2 separate regions of the Homo sapiens genome follow, and region 1 is linked to region 2. The links are contacts of gene promoters, found by promoter capture Hi-C in blood cells and fetal thymus (Javierre and others, 2016). All regions are on one chromosome and are shown on one strand. The core of a region is centred on a gene start or on the middle of the fragment in contact, and the rest is flanking DNA. Distances in the headings are between cores, read along the strand shown.

Region 1 (2,700 bases), core at 81-2,580, 300 kb after region 2:
GTGAACATTTTTGCATATTTAATTTAAATCTTTTTTTTTTTTTTTAAAGAAAAATCAGTGTTGGTTTGATGACAATGATATTACATTTTTCATTTCATTCATTTCATTTTCATTTTTATTTTTGGAAGAAAATCACTTTATTTTAATTAACTCACAGAGAATAAAATCACAGCTAGTTTAAGGAGGCTACACAAACATTTGCCCAGCCCCAAATTCTACACGACCTTAATGAAATTCTGCACAGTAAGAGCACCTTCTTTCATTTCAATTCTGAAGCAAGGAAGCTATGAATGACAAGGAGAGGTTTAACTGATGGTTACACTTTATACCTTCACTATCAATTATATTTTTATACTAAATTAACTTGGTTATGAGAGCTGATTTTTCATTACTCCAATTTGACCTTCTTGATTAGGCCAATCTGTTTGAAGGTCTGCACTGTTTCAGCACCTCACTGAAACCCTCACAGAGCTTTCTGTCACCCTGGTTCTGTGCATCCTCCAAAAACTGGTCTCATAGAAGCAAGGCCGCTGCTGCTGTGCCGACTGGATTCCCTGAGGCTACTGGTAAGTGATGTCAGGCCTTACAGGCTCAGCATTACTTCCTCCACTGAAGCCCCCGGTGACGGCGTGGCCCAGTGTGTGCCCCACAGCAGAGCCCACAGCCACGTCAGCTGCAGTGGTTGCCATCTGGGCCCTCAGACCTGGCTGCTGGGGAGCAGCAGCAGGAGAGCCAACTGCAGAGGTGGATGCCACTGTTGGCGGCTGAGCTGCAGGTGCTGGCCTGTATGCAGCTGTCATCTGAGATGCCCGGCTGGCCAGAGGGGCCATGTGGGAAGTGTGGCTTCAGCTTCCATGGGGCATCCTAGGTGTGTTGGCGGCTCGGCATTTGGATGTGTGAAAACAAGCCGTTTTGTTCATTTTAAAGAGCTCAAACAATGCAGAAAACTGCAGTGATAAAATTTAGAAAATATATAATCCTCCCTGAATTCCGCCACCGAGAAAGAAACACCATTAGCTGTATTTTTATTTTTATTGCCCAGGCTGGAGTGCAATGGCTCGATCTCAGCTCACTGCAACCTCTGCCTCCCGGATTCAAGTGATTATTCTGTCTCAGCCTCCCAAGTAGCTGGGATTACAGGTGTGCACCACCATGCCCAGATAATTTTTTTGTGTTTTTAGTAGAGATGAGTTTCACCATGTTGGTCAGGCTGGTCTCAAACTCCTGACCTCAGGTGATCTGCCCGCCTCGGCCTCCCAAAGTGCTGGGATTACAGGCATGAGCCACCACACCTGGCCTATCAATATTTGTTGAATGAATATCTTGTAGAATTTTTTAAGGCTTTGAAATTGCTTTGTATTTGGCAAATACTTTAAATCTAATGCCTCTCCCACTTGCTTTTTTGAAAAAATGAGTTATCCTTATCCTTATCCTTTTCCCAGGATAGCCCTCAGACTTTCCTGGGTGGGCCCTACATCTCAGCAGCCTCCCTGGAAAACATCCTCTGCTTCTCTGGACTCTCCAAGTGGGATAGATGCAGAGAATATCTGCCCTCTTGGCCCCCACAGGCTGAGCATACCCAGTAATTGGTCTTATTATTCTGTGTTGGAATTTTAGAAAGATAGTGTGATGTGGTTATTATTCTATGAATATCAACTTCTAAATTGATCCAATGCTCAATGAAAATGACATTTCTTTTTCTTTTTCTTTTCTTGAGATGGAGTTTCGCTTTTGTTGCTTAGGCTGGAGTGCACTGGTGCAACCTTGGCTCACCGCAACCTCTGCTTCCTGGGTTCAAGTGATTTTCGTGCCTCAGCCTCCTGAGTAGCTGGGATTACAGGAGCACACCACCACACCTGGCTAATTTTTGTATTTTTAGTAGAGACAGCATTTCGCCATATTGGCCAGGCTGGTCTTGAACTCTGACCTCAGGTGATCCACCAGCCTTAGCCTCCCAAAGTGCTGGGATTACAGGTGTGAGCCACTGTGCCTGGCCATTTTTCTTTCTTTCCTTTTTCTTTTTTTTTTTTTTTTTGAGACAGGGTTTTGCTCTGCTGCCCAGGTTGGAGAAAACCCACTGAGAAACATCATATATATGGAAGCTGTTCATACATAGTATATGAGTGGGCTGTAGAGACAGGGGTGCTGTGGAGGAAATGAACTTTGATTTTGTTGCTGAAAACTGCATTATTAGCTCCTGAATTTCCAGTCTGTTATATAATTGTTTATGTGAACATGATGCATTTTAAGGTGTAATATTTAAAATTTACTTGGCATTAAATCATAGTTCTGCTCTTAATATACTTTATAGAGAATTTGGGACATGGTTTTATTCATACAGATTATTAGGTTCATTTCTTTAAAAGAGACTAGCTCCTTTAGTGGATTTGATGTGTAGAAGGATAATTTTAGCGCAAATAACTGCTAAACTGTGCATTCGAGAGCAGAGGTAGTGGGGAATATGGTGTAATTACTTGAGATAAGGTATGTTTATCATTTGTGTTTTCTCATGGTGAAGATTAAATATATAGCTTAAATATAATACATATGCTCATAAGAACCCTTTTCATTAGATGTATATGTACTGAGTAGCAGGTTCTTAAAATGGCTGTTTCCCTGGATTGATTGTTGAGGGAAGAAAGTGTAATTGCACCAGATCAATCTGGCTCAACTTTTATGTAACAAAGTTGTGAGTTGTTT
Region 2 (2,700 bases), core at 92-2,591:
TGGGACCACAGGCGCACACCACCACGCCCCGCTAATTTTCTTTTTTTGTAGAGACGGGGTTTCTCTATGTTGCCCAGGTTCTGTTCTTTTTCTTAAATGATACATGGCAAACGTTTATTGAATTTTTGCTGCCTCCCTTAATTCAAGCCTTCATCCATACACAATTTCATTTACTATTAACCTGAGAACTGTGAAAGGAAACTTTTACACATGGTTAAAAAAGTATCATGTTTTAAGTTTTATCTAATTTTTGCTTAAATATATAATACATAAAGGAAAGAAACAATGACTCAGTCGGCCACCCGTACTTTTTTGTTCATTCCATGTTTCCACTAGCCCTTAAGACACTTTAAACTCACACCGAAGGGCCAGTAACATCTCCAATCTCTAAAAAGTTTGCATTAGTAGAAATAACGATTCAAAATAGCACTGGCTTGTCAACGTACACCAATGCAAAAGGCACAGTCCTAACGTCTTTAATGAAACAAGCGAGTGTACCGTCTACTGTGAGAGCAATGACAGTCACGCAGCCTGCGGGAGCCCTGCCACTCGCTCCGTGACCCAGGGTAAGTTACTCAACCCCATTGCGTCTCCCTTTCCTCATCTGTTAAAAATAAAGCAGGGTGGAAATAGCGTTTGCACTCCTCGGGTGGTATGAAGATGGTGCGCGTTCCGTGTGTAAACCCGCTCGTGACCAGCGCTCGGGACGCGTTGGTCGCTATCATTGCCATCCTCCGCCCCGCGTCGTTACTTCGGAGTTACGACAGGGACCTCAAAATTAAAGTCACAACATCCGCGAGGGACTCAATCCTCTCCCGCATCTCCTAACAGCCGGGAATTTGTTTTGAAGGGAGGATAAGAGGCGGCTTCACGCCCACGAAGCGCCACACATTGGCGCTGCCGGGGAGGCGGGGGCCCGCGGCCTCCTCGGCGTCCGGAGCCGGCCCAGCGAGCGGAGGCCCGCCCCGTGCCCAAAGAACAGTCTCCTCCCGCGGGGGGGGCACAACCCGAGCCTCTCAGCCTGCCCCCGCTCCGCAACTCCGGTCCCGGGCTCCGGGCCCTGAGCCTCAGAGCCCCTGGAGCCCCGGAACCCCCGAATCCCAGCCCCCGCACCACAGCCCGCCATTCACGCGCGCGCGCCCGGCCCTCACCAGGTCGATGTGGGAGAAACCGGTGAGCACGAGATTCTTGAGGAGCTCGCAGCCGATGCCGCCCGCCCCCACCACCAGCACCCGGCCCCCGGCCACCGCCTCAGCCAGCTCCCGGGGCAGCCCCCGCGACAGTGCCATGGCGGGACAACCACGAGCCGCGGCGGAGGCGGAGGCGGGAGAACCGAGCCGCGGCCGGAAGCGGGTGGGGGAAGGGCGGCCTGGTTTCCGCTCCTGCGCACTACAGCCTCCGGCAGACACAGGCAGGGCACATCGCGCCGGGGTGTGCTGCAGCCCGCGGGGACCGGCAGGCTCTTGCAAAGGGCTGGCGACCTCCAGCTGAGACCGGCGGTGTTATTCCCACACCAGCATAGGCCCGCCATCAGACCTAAAAAGTCTAAGGGTCGCCTTCTAGCCTGGGGTTTCAACTCCCAGCCAAGACTTCCTTACAGGTTAGAAAACTGATGTCCCTATACGTAAAGAGCTCTTACAAATTAACAAGTGTCACCCCCAAAAAAATATAGGCAAAGGATGTGAACAGGAAACTCACAAAAAATTGGACAATATGATCAATAAGCGTATTAAAATGTAAACCATAAAAGAATCGCTTGAACCCTGGAGGTGGAGGTTGCAGTGAACCAAGATCGCACCACTTCACTCCAGGCTGGGTAACAGAGCAAGACTCCGTCTCAAAAAAGAAAAAAATGTAAACCATGCAAAATGGTAAGATTTTCACCTGCCGGGCGCGGTGGCTTACGCCTGTAATCCCAGCACTTTGGGAGGCCGAGGCGGGTGGATCACGAGGTCAGGAGTTCTGAAACCAGCCTGACTAACATGGTGAAACCCCCATCTCTACTAAAAATACAAAAATTAGCCGGGCGTGGTGGCGTGCGCCTGTAATCCCAGCTACTCGGGAGGCTGAGGCAGGAGAATCGTTTGAACCCAGGAGGCAGAGGTTGCAGTGAGCCGAGATCGCGCCACTGCACTCCAGCCTGGGCAACAGACTCCGTCTCAAAAAAACAAACAAACAAACAAACAAAAAAAAACACCGAAACAGCTGGGGGTGGTGGCACAAGCCTGTAGCCCCAGCTACTCAGGAGGCTGAGGCAGGAGAATTGCTTGAACCCAGGAGGCGGAGGTTGCACCACTGCACTCCAGCCTGAGCAATACAGCGAGACTCTGTCTCAAAAAAAAAAAAAAGTTTTTCACCTACTAAACTGGTAGAAAGAAAAAATAAGTAACACTTATCAAGGGATTGGGAAACAAGCACTCCAACACACTCCAGGTAAAGATTCCAAAGCAAAGCTTCTCTAGAGGGCGTGGTGGCTTGCACCTGTAGTCCCAGCTACTCAGGAGGCTGAGGCAGGAGGATCACTTAAGCCTGAGAGGTCGAGGCTGCAGTGAGCTATGCCCTTACCACTGCACTCCAGCCTGAGAGACAGAGCAAGACCCTGTCTCGAAAAAAAAGAAAAAAAAACCCTAAAATTGTGCACAACTTTTGACTCATTCATTCCAATTCTAGGAAACTGTCCTGTAGCAGTTATCATTGATT

The links. Contacts are between HindIII fragments. The CHiCAGO score rates a contact against its expected background, and 5 or more counts as called.
Region 1: a fragment that was not itself captured here is called in contact with the fragment with the promoter of UBA2 in region 2 in 1 of 17 cell types (fetal thymus); the score reaches 5.3 in fetal thymus.

What each region holds. Positions count from the first base shown.
Region 1 is chr19:34,125,135-34,127,834 of GRCh38, reverse strand. It overlaps the pseudogene CHCHD2P3. Among named protein-coding and RNA genes, the nearest start is that of LSM14A, 46 kb to the left of the region's middle. RefSeq lists an enhancer at 680-1,189. The HindIII fragment of the contact is 8,804 bases long and covers 1-2,700 here.
Region 2 is chr19:34,427,022-34,429,721 of GRCh38, reverse strand. It overlaps UBA2 (ubiquitin like modifier activating enzyme 2), which reads right to left and starts at 1,341. Exons shown (of 17, transcript NM_005499.3): 1 at 1,152-1,341. The coding sequence starts at 1,289. It overlaps LOC124904695 (a long non-coding RNA gene), which reads left to right and starts at 1,358. Exons shown (of 2, transcript XR_007067232.1): 1 at 1,358-1,600. RefSeq lists silencers at 844-1,003, 1,074-1,183, 1,214-1,453. The HindIII fragment of the contact is 4,339 bases long and covers 1-2,455 here.